Regions from separate parts of the Homo sapiens genome. Here region 2 is linked to region 1. The links are contacts of gene promoters, found by promoter capture Hi-C in blood cells and fetal thymus (Javierre and others, 2016). All regions are on one chromosome and are shown on one strand. The core of a region is centred on a gene start or on the middle of the fragment in contact, and the rest is flanking DNA. Distances in the headings are between cores, read along the strand shown.

What was found. The method cuts DNA at HindIII sites, captures the fragments that hold promoters and counts their contacts. A CHiCAGO score of 5 or more calls a contact.
Region 2: a fragment that was not itself captured here is called in contact with the fragment with the promoter of B4GALT1 in region 1 in 1 of 17 cell types (M0 macrophages); the score reaches 7.8 in M0 macrophages.

Annotation. Positions count from the first base shown.
Region 1 is chr9:33,166,015-33,173,146 of GRCh38, forward strand. B4GALT1 (beta-1,4-galactosyltransferase 1) reads right to left here and starts at 1,322. Exons shown (of 6, transcript NM_001497.4): 1 at 744-1,322. The coding sequence starts at 1,155. It overlaps B4GALT1-AS1 (B4GALT1 antisense RNA 1), which reads left to right and starts at 934. Exons shown (of 3, transcript NR_108110.1): 1 at 934-1,032. RefSeq lists silencers at 1,074-1,347, 1,106-1,505 and enhancers at 1,173-1,738, 1,656-1,755, 1,739-2,303, 1,826-1,905, 6,764-7,132. The HindIII fragment of the contact is 9,103 bases long and covers 1-6,113 here.
Region 2 is chr9:27,461,427-27,468,714 of GRCh38, forward strand. The region is part of intron 1 of MOB3B (MOB kinase activator 3B); the gene reads right to left. Among named protein-coding and RNA genes, the nearest start is that of IFNK, 59 kb to the right of the region's middle. RefSeq lists an enhancer at 3,823-4,324. The HindIII fragment of the contact is 3,767 bases long and covers 980-4,746 here.

The DNA of each region.
Region 1 (7,132 bases), core at 72-2,571:
CTGGGAGAGATCCCTGCTCACCTAGGTTTTGGGTACCCATACCAGGAGGAGGCTAGGGGGAAGGGCTCTCGGTCACGATCCACACAGAGGAAGAAATGAACACACAGTGACAATTTACTGAGGGCTTACCCTCATTAATTAAGCCCTTATTTACCATTGTTCACAATATCTTCCAAAACAACCCCTTGAAAGGGTGACCATTTATTATCCCAGAAGAGAAATATGAGGTTCAGAGAGAAGTCACTTGGCCCAAACGATCAGGAGAAAAACCCACTCAGGAGAGTGGCTCTATGGCAAGACACGTGAACCGAGAGGTCAGTCTCCTTCCCCACCGGGAGCCTCACGTCAGTCCCCAAAAGGGAGTGGATTACTCGAGGTCCCTACCAGAGTTCTCAGTGCAAGGCTGCTCGAAGCCCTAAGCAGACCCAAACTCCAAAACTTCCTGAGCCTCGGGCCACAGCAGGGAAGTCTCCAAGGCCTTCTCTGGTTCTGGGGCTAGAGGGGCCTCGGGACTTCCCTGTGCGGTCCCGGCCCCACGCCTCCAACAGGACTCCCCAGGGACCCACCTCGCAAACCTTCTCTCCCATCCAGTCCCAAGCCTCTGTCTGGGATTTAAAACTCTGATCCAGAAGAGGGAGGCTGGCTGTCGTAGAAGAGCCAGCCTGAGGGAATGTCTGGGGGACCCTGTCGGGGAAATCCGGGGGGGTCCCAATCCTCCGACTGGCGCCGACCCGAGTCCTTACCAAGCAGCGGGGACTCCTCAGGGCAGGCGGGCAGCGACAGTGCGGTGGTGTGGGGCACTGGGACCGAGGTCAAGTTGCTAGCGGGGCCAGGGCCAGAATCCACGACTGGGCTGGAGTCGCCACCCGGGCGCGGCTGGGAGGAGGCGCCTAGAGGAGGCGGCGGCCGGGCCCCTCCGGTCCGGAGCTCCCCGGAGGACTGCCCGATGGCGGCGGCACTGTTCGAGCCGCCCTGCAGCGGTGTGGAGACTCCGACCAGTTGGGGCAGGCGGCTCAGGTCGCGGCCAGCCAGGTAGTAAACGAGGGTGACGCCAAGGTGCAGAGCGCAGACGGCCACGAGCAGGCGGCAGGCCCGCTGTAGGGACGCGCCTGGCATCGCGGCGCTGCCGCTCAGGAGCGGCTCCCGAAGCCTCATCTTCCCGCCGCCGCTTTAAGAAGGGTGTGGGCTACAGGAGGGGAGGCGACCCGCCCGCGGGCCGCCCGCCAGGCGCTGCCCCACAGCGGCGACTAGGGGAGGGCCCGGAGCGGGGGCGGGCGAGCGGCTGAGAGCTGAGACTCCTCCAGCCAGCCAGACCTGGGAGCGGCGAGAAGCCGCCCGAGGCGCCGGCGGAGAGGGGAGGGGCGGGGCCCCGGCGAAGGCGGGGGCGGGGCCGGGCGCGGGGTTTTCTGGACGAGGGCGGGAAGGCGGGGCAGCCCGTGGCGGGATGGGCGCGCTGGGCGGGGCCTCGGGAGGGTGGGCAGCGGGCGGGGCGCCGTCGTGGGGTCCCCGGAGTATGACTGCAGCTCCGACGCTTGGCCGCGCACCGCCCTCTTCCTCCCGAGCCTTTGCGGCGGAGCTTCGGTCGCGTTGAGCCGCGCCTCCTCTTCCTCCTCCACGCTGCCCTCGACAGGCCGCGCCACTTCCTGGGGTGCGAAGGGACTCGGGTGCGAGCCTGGGCCTGCAGCGCGGCGGCGGAGAGAACGGAGAGGACAGCTGGCGGGTGGTTATCTGGAGTGGTTTGGGGCCGCGGCGGCGTTCTGGCCAGTGGGCCTTGGTGGGCTAGGAAGAGAGGCAGAAAAAGGTTACCCAGGAAACGGGCTTCGACGCCGGGCGAGGAGTGGCACGTTCGAAACCCCCTCCCTAACTCAGCCCGGCTGGACCCCGCTGCTTAACGGGGGGTCCTGCGGCAAAGAAAGTGGACGGGTTGCCACTTCTGTGCCTCCCCATCAGGTAGCCTGGGCTATAAGGGGCTCTCAGACCAGCTTGGTTCCAGATGTGTGTGTGGCGGGAGTCCTGTATACTTTGAAGAGGAGAGCAGCAAGAAGCCTCTAACTCCCAGGCCAGCGTGCAGGAGATCAGCCGGCGTTACAGTCTACACTGGGCTACCCACTGTCCCATGAAGTAGCAGTTCTCCCCATGTCGTAGAGTGGGGCCCCGGCAGATTAAGAAACTTTCCTAAGAGCCCACAGCTGGCAAGAGGCAGAATTCTGGCTCCGAAACCCATGTTTTCTACAGGTTTACCCTTTGTTGATTTGCAAGTAAGGGCTGAAGGCTGTGTGGGTGAGAGACTTAGGCACTGAAGCCACTTGACCTCGATTTGACCCAGAGGCCTCAGGCCCTGAGTGAGCAGAGACACCTCACCCCAGAGAAAGACTCATGGAGGTGCTGTCAGTAATGTGGATAGGGAAGTTGAGGGCTCTGGCAGCCAACCATCAGGGAATAACAGTAGCTACCTTATTTTGAGAGTTTGCTGTGTGCCAGTACTATCTGCCATGAAGTAGGTGGTGTTACGGTGTCCATTTCACAGATGAGAAAATAAGGCTTATGAGTTGACACTTTGGTTGTGATCATACAGAATCAACTTTCCTCACTTGACTTCCTGGACACCAGGTCCTTCTGATCTTCCTCACTTCACTGGCCATTTCTGTCTCCTCTCTGGACTTCTTCCCCAGTTGCTGAAGGCCCCAGCCATAGTCCATGATGTTCTTTTGTGTCTACACTTACTGCCTCGGAATGATTTATAATATCCAAATGCTGATCACTGATTTGTCTCCAGCCCAGATCTCTTCCCTGACCTCCAGATTCAACTGCTTATTTTACTGGCATCTCAAACACAATACATCTTGCCCTCAGCAACCTACTCCTTACACACCACTCCCGTTCTTACCTCCCTCAGAGAGTGATACTATTGTTTATTCAGTTCCCCAGAATCTAAAAGGTGTCCTTGATGTGCTTCTCTTGCTCTCAATGCCATTTGCAAGCCCTCAGCCAGCTTTGTCAGTGCTACCTTCAAAACATCAAAATTCACCACCAGCCAACTCTGATGTAACCATCCTCGATCAAGCCACCATCATCTTGCCCTGGGTTATATGGCAGCTACTAATTGGTCACCCTGCTTCCACCTCCTCCATTCCTCCTCCCTAGTCTGTTTTCCACAGAGCATCCAGGAAATCTTTGTAAGCATAAATCAGATCATGCCATTTTGTTCAGAACCAAATCCACAGAAACCCTGTTCAATCTGGTTCCTATTTCCCTCCCCACCCACATCTGTCACTCTACCATGCTGGACCTGCCTTAGCCACACTAGCCTGATAGCTATTCCTTGAACTTGCCATATTTCTTCCTGCCTCAGGGCCTTTGTACTTGCTGTTCATTTAGCCTGAAACACTTGTCCCCAATATTTCATTCAATTCAGGTCTCTTAAATGTCACCTTATGACAGAGACCTTTTCAGACTACCTTATGCAGAATGGCCTCCTGCCCAAATCTGCTTAAACTGCTTGAATTTTTTTTTTTTTTTTTTTGAGACAAAGTCTTGCTTTTGTCCCCCAGGTTGGAGTGCAATGGTGCAATCTCACCTCACTGCAACCTCTGCCTCCCGGGTTCAAGCGATTCTCCTGCCTCAGCCTCTTGAGTAGCTGGGATTACAGGTGCCTGCCATCACGCCGGGCTAATTTTTTGTGTTTTTAGTAGAGACGGATTTCACCATGTTGGCCAGGCTGGTTTCAAACTCCTGACCTCAGGTGATCCGCCCGCCTCGGCCTCCCAAAGTGCTGGGATTACAGGCGTGAGCCACCGCGCCCGGCCTTAACCTGCTTGATTTTTTTCAGAGTGGATATCAACTACCCAACATTATGCATTTATTTTCTGTTGTCTTGCCTCCCTCATTAGAAAATCAGCTTCATGAGAACAGGAAATTTCTCTCTTGTTCACTACTGTATCTTCAGCCCCTAGATTTTTTTTTTTTTTTTTTTGAGACGGAGTCTCACTCTGTCACCCAGGCTGGAGTGCAGTGGCGTGATCTTGGCTCACTGCAAGCTCTGCCTCCTGGGTTCACGCCATTCTCCTGCCTCAGCCTCCCAAGTAGCTGGGACTACAGGTGCCTGCCACCATGCCCGGCTAATTTGTTTGTATTTTTAGTAGAGATGGGGTTTCACCGTGTTATCCAGAATGGTCTCAATCTTTTGACCTCGTGATCTGCCTGCCTCGGCCTCCCAAAGTGCTGGGATTACAGTTGTGAGCCACCGTGCCCGGCCGATATTTGTTAAAATACTTTTTAAATACTGTGATCATCTTAATGATGTGGGAAGGAGAGAAGGGAAAAATTATTGCTAACTTAGTTTAGAACGTAAAGTGGAGTTCTCCAAGGAGTTGGTAAAGGTGAAGCTGACCCCAGCATCCTGTGTCTAGGGGTAAAGTCGGCCTGGCCAATGAGTGAGGGTGGGTCAGATTAGTCCTGCAACTGAAAATTAAGTGGAGGGGGAAATGGGGATGTGTCTTCCATTGGTATAGATGATAGCCAGGAGACAGGACTGCGGGGGTTATTAAGAATCACAGACCTGTCCCAGGACACACGTGGCCAGAAATCGAGGAAAAGGAACAACACTTGCTGATTGCCTATCCCTCAGGAACTTGCAGAGTCCACTGAGGCCTGAGCACTAGTCTCAGCTGCCCCTGATCCACAGGCACCTAGAAGCAGTCAATTACAAATAATACAGATGGCCCAGAAACCTTTGGGACAACATTGTCCAGCAGTCCAGACATTAACTGGTGCTAGTGAGACAGACCCAGGCAACCTTTCTCCCCACTGTCTCCAGCTCTTTTCCACTCTCTACTTCGTCAGGTGAAAAATTAATCCCATCCGGCGAGACAAATGCAGGAGGAAGTTGCAGTGCTGATTGGCCAAAAGCTGGCATGGGGGCTTGGCCGTTGGCCCATCCATGTGCTCATCTGCCCAGAATCACCAGCTCCCTGCTTCTCCCTGCAGCTGGCCTTCCTCTGCCCTCCTATGGCGCCCTCTTCTGCACCTGCCAGGTTACATTTCTGTTTTTACCCTCATGGATCAGAAGGGCATCAAATAGTGCCCGGCACATGGTAGACAGTTATTTCAGTCATCTATTGCAGCGTAACACCTACCCCAAAACTTACTGTTTTGAAGCAACAATTTCTCGCAGTTTTGCAGTTGGCTGGGCAGCTTTGCCTCACATGGTGTCAGCTGAGGCACTGGCACAGTTGGAAGTTCCAAAATGGCTTCACTCATGTGAATGGCAGTTGGGGCTGTCTGGGGGCTGGAAACTCAGAATGGGTTGGGTCATGGGGCCTTCATTCTCCACTTGGATCTCTCCACAAAGGACTCTCCATGTGGCTGCTTGGGTTTCCTCACAAACTAGAGGAAGCATTCCAAAAAGGAGCATTTCAAAAATACAGAAGATGGAGATCCCTGAAAGCCCAGCCTTAGCATCACTTCTAAAGCATTCTTTTGCTTAAAACAAGTTTATAGGGCAGGCCAGATTCAAGGGGAATAAAACTGGCTCGGCCTCTTGTTTTTACTTTTTTTTTTAGACAGGATCTTCCTTTATCAACCAGCCTGTAGTGCAGTGGTGTGATCATAGGTCACTATAACGTCAAACTCCTGGGCTCAAGTGATTCTCCTGCCTCAGCCTCCCGAGTAGCTGGGACTACCGGGATGCGCCTCCACGTCCAGCTAATTTTAAAATTTTTAGTAGAGATGAGATGTTGCGATATTGCTCAGGCTAGTCTCGAACTCCTGAGCTCACGCAGTCTTCCTGCTTTGGCCTCCCAAAGTGCTGAGATTACCAGCATGAGCCATTTCACCTGGCTGACTCCACCTCTTGATGGGAGGAGGGACAAAGAATTGTCAGGCACCTTTATTCCACAGTAGTTTGCCCAATGGCCACAGATTATTTAGATTCTTCTCACAGGTAAAATACATTAGTGTCTTCTTAAAATCCCCCAAAAGTTCAACTAATTAAGACTTCAGGTCCAAAGTATTGTCTAAATCAGATCCAGGTGTTACCGACCAAAGCGCAAAAGCACTCACTGCCCAATGTTCTAGAAACCAATACTGTGACACCTGGTTTTTGAGAAAAGAAAAGCTTTGTACTGCAGGTAGGCCAACAAGGAGATAGAAGAGTCCAGCTGAAATCTCCCTGTGGTGACTTTAGGTCTCCCTGGGCTGGCTCAAGTCTCCCTGGGCTGGCTTTAAGGTAGTGTTTTTATCAGAAAAATTTTGGGGGGTGGATTCTGAGATTAGTAAGTAACTGGTGGAAGGAAAGGGGAGGTCTGGAAAGTCCTCAGTCATGCACAATTATTTCTTCATGCCTCTTCACTGGTCACATGTGCAATTCAGGGGGATTTAGAATGAAACGTGGTGGAAATTTGGGTTGTGACACCAGAAAGCTCTTTCTGTGAACAGCCCAGTTGCCCTGTTTGTTCCAACTGATTTCAGCCAGTTCTTTTATCTCAAGCAGAGGGAGTTTTGGCATTTCAGCACATTGTTTCTTTTCTTATCTGCCATCCTGCAAACTCAGGAATTTCTGTTAGTCATTGTTTTCTTTAACTCTTTGGGACACAGTTTCACAGGTATATTCCTCAGGTTCAGGGATGGGAGATACGGATAGCTGGGTGCAGTGGCTCACGCCTTTAATCCCAGTGCTTTGGAAGGTTGAGGTGGGAGGACCACTTGAGCCCAAGAGTCTGAGACCAGCCTGGGTAACATCTCTAAAAAATAAAGATAAAAGAGGGACCTGTGGATTATAAAGACAAATTACCTCATTCCTTTTTTTTTTCTCCCTTTTCCTGAGAAATTCAGTTAAAAAGTCACTAGGTAGGGTTGAGCAACATAAGAGTCCAAACAGCATAGACAGGGTGTCAAAGCCCAACCAGGATAGGGAGGGGTAAGGGTGGGGGTGGGGAGGATAGCAGCCCAGCAAAGAGGGTCAAAGCCCAGGAGAGCAAAAAGGGCCTCAGGACCTGAGCATGGTAGGAAGTCTCCTGTGAAGTAGGGCAACCGAGTACAGGGTGTTGAAGCCAAGATGTGATGAAGAGAGTGTTGAACACAGCAACACTGATTAAAAAGTAACCATATGGTCGGGCATGGTGGCTCACGCCTG
Region 2 (7,288 bases), core at 1,613-4,112, 5.7 Mb before region 1:
TTTCCCCAACGAATTCAACTCCTCAACTTTGAGCTGTCATATCACTGCATTTTGTTACATTAGTTGGGAGAAACCTTGCTGCCTCATTTTAATCTTCAAAGATATGCATGGTTTCAGAGCTTAGAATGCTCACATTATTTCTGAACACAGATGAAGTTAGTACAAATAGGTGTAACCGTACAGAAGTCTGTCACAGGACTATTCTGCTCATCTTCTAGCTCTTCAATGGTCGTTTGAATTGCATTCTTGCTGTTTCACAGGCTTATTGTTTTGGTCATCAGTGCAGACATTCTAGCATCAAATGTGTAAGTAAATAGTGCCAAAATGAAAGCATTACCTGTAACCTTATACACTGTAGCAGCAGCAACAGCTACAATAGATGAATGCACAGGTGTTTTCAGCAAAAACCTATAATGATTCATCATCATTCAGAAGAGGACACTTAGTGGTGAGAAAGAATGGAAAGAGTAAAAGAAAAGAGTGGGATTTGTTTGGTATGGTTTGAAACATTACCTACTGACAGTCCATGGAACAAAAGACAGAGTTTTAAAAAATGTTTTCTGAAATAAAGAGAATAATGTTCCTTCTGGACACCAGTACCAACTAGCTTAGATTCCCAACAATGACAAAGATGAAGACCTTTTGGTCAAACCTTGGGCAGGGTTGATCCAATCTTACTGCAGTTGTAAAAATAAATAGTAAAGTAAAATTATTACAGGATAAAAGCTCAGATGACCTATTTAATCTTATAAAGATTATAAATCTTATAATGACATCCTACTGATTATACTGATTTTTTTTAAAAGAAAGAGAAACTTCTCTAAGTCAGTGAGAGATTTGGTATATTATTTCCAGATATTTAGACTAGCTGGAAAATATTCATTTTTGTGGCTTAAAGAAAGACACGTGAATTGAAAAAAACAATATCTAAGTCAGGTGAGGGTAGAAGAATGGGGGATGGGATGAGAACTACAGATAAAGCTTAAGTTATAGCTGAAATAAAAAATTAAGGCAGGTAAAAAATGTAAGTATTTTTACTTTTTAAAGCATGAGTGTATATCAGCTGATATGATGTCACTCTGAACCTTGAACGGATATTGAGATAAGTATTTTTACTTTATAAAGCATGGGTGTATATCAGCTGATATGATATCACTCTGAACCTTCAGTGGATACTGGGATAAAGGTCATTGTCAGTTACCCTTTCTTTTTCTTTGAAACAGCGTATGTCAATCCTTTCTTGGAAAAGTCTTAAAGGAAAAAGGTTCAAATTCAAGGAAGTTGGATCCTGTAACTGACAACAGACTTGTTTACTCTTAGCCACTAAGTGAACTTGAGTCTCAAAGTCTGAAAAATTTCTAGCCCTAGCACCATGAGAACTTATGTATGACATCTGGAACCATTGCAAAAGATCTTTGCAGGAAGGTGGAGAACACAAAATGGGCAAGAAGACTGGAAATTCGAAAATACAGTTTGAATTTTCAAAAGATCATAAGTTTAAGTTTGACAGGGGATAGGTAAAATTAACACCAAGAGCAGGCAAGATTAAGAGGCACTAAAGCCCAGTGGCTAACAGCACACAGCTTTTGCAGGGTTGCTGCAAGAATTCAAACAGTTTACGTAAAACACTTAGCATTAGCAAGTACTGAATATAGTATAGTGGTTGTTGCTATCATCATGTTCATCATTTGAATCATATTATGATACAAGTTTTACTAGAGAGTCAGATTCTTGAGAGACCAGTCACCTAGAATCTATCTTAGGATGCCTAAAATTCTAATTATATAATATTAACAATGGTATTTATTAAGGACTTCCTATTTATTTTAGTTTTCACAACCTTATGAATAGGTATTATTATTATTATACCTAATTTACGCTTAAGGAAACTGAGACACAGTGAGATTGAAGCTATATCCTGATCACAGAACCAGTAAGTAGCCAAGCTGACTCCAAACCTCTTACCACCTACTTAAAAGTGCCTCTTTAGACAGTTGGGTAGTTAAAGAAAAAAAACAAAACAGAGGAAGTTCTGGGGTACACCTAAGGGGGTCAGGGAGGAAATGGGAGAAACAGAGACCTAGCCCTATGTACATTGTCATGTGCCACTCCAGAAGAGATCTATTTCTGGAAACTTCGCGGTCTAGATTCAAAAGACCTGGATTCAAATTCTGGCAATGACTTTAGCTGGCTATGTCTTTGAACAGACACTTTTTATGAATCTCAGTTTTGTCTTCTTTAAAGATGATGGTGGCTGGGCACAGTGACTCACGTCTGTAATCCTAACACTTTGGGAAGCTGAGCCAGGCTGATTGCTTGAGCCCAGGAGTTCGAGACCAGCCTAGGCAACATGGCAAAACCTCATCTCTACAAAAAATACAAAAATTAGCCCAGTGGGACACGCCTGTAGTCCCAGCTACTTGGGAGGCTGAGGTGGGAGGATCACCTGAGCCTGGGGATGTCCAGACTGCAGTGAGCCATGATTGCACCACCGTGCTCCAGCCTGGGCAGCAGCATGAGACCCTGTCTCAAAAAAAAGAAAAAAGAAAAAAATAATAAGGATAACGGTTAATGGTGCTTACCTTTATTGTAAGGTTACTGTGAAAATTAGAAGAGATATTGCCAGTGAAAGTGCTTCACAAATGGAAAACAATTATATGGTTATTGACATAGTGACTGATAAAAGAAACTATGACTTTTGACTTAATATCAAGAAATGATGTGAGAAACAGAAAATGATTCAGTTCAATGCAAATGTGTGTTTACGAATAAGAAATAGGCAGGAGGTGGTAGGGGTGGGGGGCACGGTGGCAATGGAAGCCCTGCATAGGAGGAAAGAAAGAAAGAAAATGCTTCATTCTTGCTTAATTTGGGTGGACTTCTAATTCTCAGGCAAAAAGAAATAATATTAACCTCAGTGATTTGATAATGAGTTAACAATATTCCCCAACATTTATAACACACTTACCCTAATATTTTGAGGGAGTTCCAGTATTTTTTTGCATATAATAAATCTAATGCAATATGGCTTATTTCATGAATTTGGGCAAATTATATCCACCATGCCCTCCCACTAATCCCTCAAACACTTTTCAGAATAGCATATAAATACTCTACATTTAACACATTACATTCCTGGTTATAATCCAGTTACAACCTCTGTATTCTGATAACAGAAATGACTTTCTAAACTGTTTAAAAAGTTATTTTTTATATTAGCTCATTTTCATGCTGCTGATAAAGACATACCTGAAAATGGGAACAAAAAGAGGTTTAATTGGACTTACAGTTCCACATGGCTGGGGAGGCCTCAGAATCATGGCGGGAGGTGGAAGACACTTCTTACATGGCAGCAGCAAGAGAAAAATGAGGAAGAAGCAAAAAAAGAGACCCCTGATAAACCCATCAGATCTCGTGAGACTTATTCACTATCACGAGAATAGCATGGGAAAGACTGGCCCCCATGATTCAATTATCTCCCCCTGGGTCCCTGCCATAGCATGTGAGAACTCTGGGAGATATAATTCAAGTTGAGATTTGGGTGGGGACACAGCCAAACCATATCATTCTGCCCCTGGCCCCTCCAAATCTCACGACCTCACATTTCAAAACCAATCATGCCTTCCCAACAGTCACCCAAAGTCTTAACTCATTTCAGCATTAACCCAAAAGTCCATAGTCCAAAGTCTCATCTGAGACAAGGCAAGTCCCTTCCACCTATAAGCCTGCAAAGTCAACAGCAAGCTAGTTAATTCCTAGACACAATGTGCGTACAGGTATTGGGTAAATACAGCTGTTCCAAATGGGAGAAATTGGCCAAAACAAAGGGGTTACAGGGCCCATGCAAGTCCGAAATCCAGCAGGGCAGTCAAATTTTAAAGCTCCAAAATGATCTCCTTTGACTCCAGGTCTGACATCCAGGTCATGCTGCTGCAAGAAGTGGGTTCCCATTATTTTGGGAAGCTCCACCCCTGTGGCTTTGCAGGGTACAGCCTCCCTGCTGGCTGCTTTCATGGGCTGGCATTAAGTGTGTGTGGCTTTTCCAGGTGCACAGTGCAAGCTGTCAGTGGATCTACCATTCTGGGGTCTGGAAGACGATGGCCCTCTTCTTACAGCTCCACCAAGCAGTGCCCCAGTAGGGACTCTGTGTGGGGGCTCCAACCCCACATTTCCCTTCTGCACTGCCCTAGCGGAGGTTCTCCATGAGGGTCCCGCCCCTGCAGCAAACTTTTGCCTGGGTATCCAGGCATGTCCACACATCTTCTGAAATCTAGGGGGAGGTTTCCAAACCTCAATTCTTGACTTCTGTGCACCCACAGGCTCAACACCACGTGGAAACTGCCAAGGCCTGGGGCTTCCACCCTCTGAAGCCACACCCTGAGCTCTACGTTGGCCCTTTCGGCCACAGCTGGAATGGCTGGGACACAGGGCACCAAGTTCCTAGGCTGCATACAGCACGGGGATCCTGGGACCGGCCCACAAAACCACTTTTTCCTGCTGGGCCTCTGGGCCTGTGATGGGTGGGGCAGCCATGAAGATCTCTGACATGGCCTGGAGACATTTTCCCCATGGTCTTAGGGATTAACATTAGGCTCCTTGCTCCTTATGCAGCCGACTTGAATTTCTCCTCAAAAAATGGGTTTTTCTTTTCTACTGCATCGTCAGGCTGCAAATTTTCTGAACTTTTACGCTCTGTTTCTCTTTTAAAACAGAATGCATTTAACAGCACCCAAGTTACCTTCTGAAAGCTTTGCTGCTTAGAAATTTCTTCCGCCAGTTACCCTAAATCATCTCTCTCAAGTTCAAAGTTCCACAAATCTCTAGGGCCACCAGTCTCTTTGCTAAAATATAACAAGAGTCACCTTTGCTCCAGTTCCCAACAAGTTCCTCATCTCCATCTGAGACCACTTCAGCCTGGACCTTATTGTTCACATCACTATCAGCATTTTTGTCAAAGCCATTCAACAAGTCTTTAGGAGGTTCCAAACTTTCCCACATTTTCCTGTCTTCTGAACCCTTCACATTGTTCCAACCTCTGCCTGTTACCCAGTTCCAAAGTCACTTCCACATTTTCGGGTATCTTTTCAGCAACGCCTCACTCTACTGGTACCAATTTACTATATTTGTCCATTTTCATGCTGCTGATAAAAACATACCCAAAACTGGGAAGAAAAAAGGGGTTTAATTGGACTTAGAGTTCCACATGGTTGGGGAGGCCTCAGAATCATAGTGGGAGGCAGAAGGCACTTCTTATACGGCAGCAGCAAGAGAAAATGAGGAAGAAGCAAAAGCAGAAACCCCTGATAAACCCATCAGATCTCGTGAGACTTATTCACTATCACAAGAATAGCACGGGAAAGACCGGCCCTTATGATTCAATTATCTCCCCTTGGGTCCGTCCTACAATATGTGGGAATTTTGGGAGATAAAATTCAAGTTGAGATTTGGGTGGGGACACAGCCAAACCATATCATTCCTGTTATCATTCCTGTTATCAGAATCCAGAGATCCTGCCAGAAGGATTAAGTCTGCATTTCTAGAAACTCTCAAGAGAGAACAGACAACCATCTAGCTAGATGATTTCTCATTTTTCTACATGAAAAACAGGTACACAAAGCAGGTAACCCTGAGATAAAATTGAGACAAATAATTAATGATTCTACCCACTCTATTCTCTCAAACATGCCAATAACAAGTTAAAAAAAAAGTTTGAAATGAAATTGAGTCAGACATGTAATTGCAAACCATGTATCCTCCTCAAAGACTGAAAAGAGGTCTACCTTTAGAGCCAGAAAGATGCAGGTCTGAGTCCAGACTCTGCCCCTTGACCAGTTACCCTTGTGGGCTAAATGCTTTCTCTTTGTGCTTTAATTTCTTTCTTTGTTGTTAGGGTGCTAATACCAATATCACAGTGGGTTTTGGGGATAAGTGAGATAATATAAGTAAAGATAGGTAAATGTCAAGTGTTAAATTTATTAATCTGGATTTCTCCTATGATCAGATTTCAGGTGGTGTGATGATCAATAGGAGTCCCAACCATAATGTGCTCTTTCTTTGACTTCTTCCCCACAAGACCTAAGCACATGACCCTCAAAAAGTGTAAAATCTTGAGGCACCTCAGAGGGAAGCACCATTTCCCCACTCGTGGTTTGGATGAGGAAGAATTTTCCCTATGCATCCTACTATCCTCTCTATGTCCTTTTACTAACATCGCCCCAGGGCAAGTGGAGGGATGGATTCACTTAGTTGGCAAACCGCACATGCTCAGCTGGCTCAGCCTGACCTTTTTTCCTCCTGCGAAGTGCCTGCTTTCAAGTGTGCTACCTGCTGCTTCCCCAGCTTTCTGCCTTTATGAATGGAATTGGTCTGCTCTCACCAGTGCTACATGGGAAAGGGTGGGCAAATCCAGAGTTTAGAGTTAACAGGCCCATTGGTTAACAGTCTGGCTTCCATAAGAAACAAAGTTGATTTTTGTTTTTGTTGTTGTATTGTTACTATCAACTTCTTTGAAGCCACATAGGGAAGAGTGGTGTGACTTGTTTATTAGGGCTCTATTGGAGAACTAACATTGTTAAGTTGTGCAGAGTGGCTTGGCTATGCAAAGTTAGCTGTTTTTGTTAGCAGAGACTCTTCGTGACATTAGTTCAACAAGAACTCTGTTTAAGACATAACTTACTCATCTGCAGAAAGTCTGTCTACACACCAGAAATGCATAGCCTTCTCAAGAGATTTCTCAGCTAAGAAAGAAAACCTAGTCATAGGGTGCATTTGTACCAGTTACTGCTCAGTGGCAGACACACAGAGACAGACTGCTCAGAACAGAGTCCCCCATCATCTATGAAGTGCTTCTGAATCCTCCACAATTGACAGTGAGCTTTAGGCCTGACAGTCCCATGCCCCTGTATGTGGCTACTGTCTGGGAACATGATTATCAGAAGCTTTCTCCAGGGAACTGAAAAACTTTCTATCCACTCAGATAAGGCCTCTCCCTTGCCCAGCCTCGATTTCCTCAAACTTCTCTCTGGCTTAACTTCAACTCCTGGTAAAGCAGAGGGAACAAGGTACCAAAAGAAGGAGCAAGAAGGACGGGATGGCTGGTCATCGTGTGCACCTTGCATGCACATCTCTGATGCGAATGCCCCAGGACCACATACTGTGCTGTATTTCTTTGCTCACATGTCTGGCCCCTCCATCAGTTTATGAGGGTTGGGAGCACACCCTAGACTTCACTGCATCCCTGGTACCTAACACAGGACCCAGCAGAAACAGGAACTCAGTAACTTTTTGT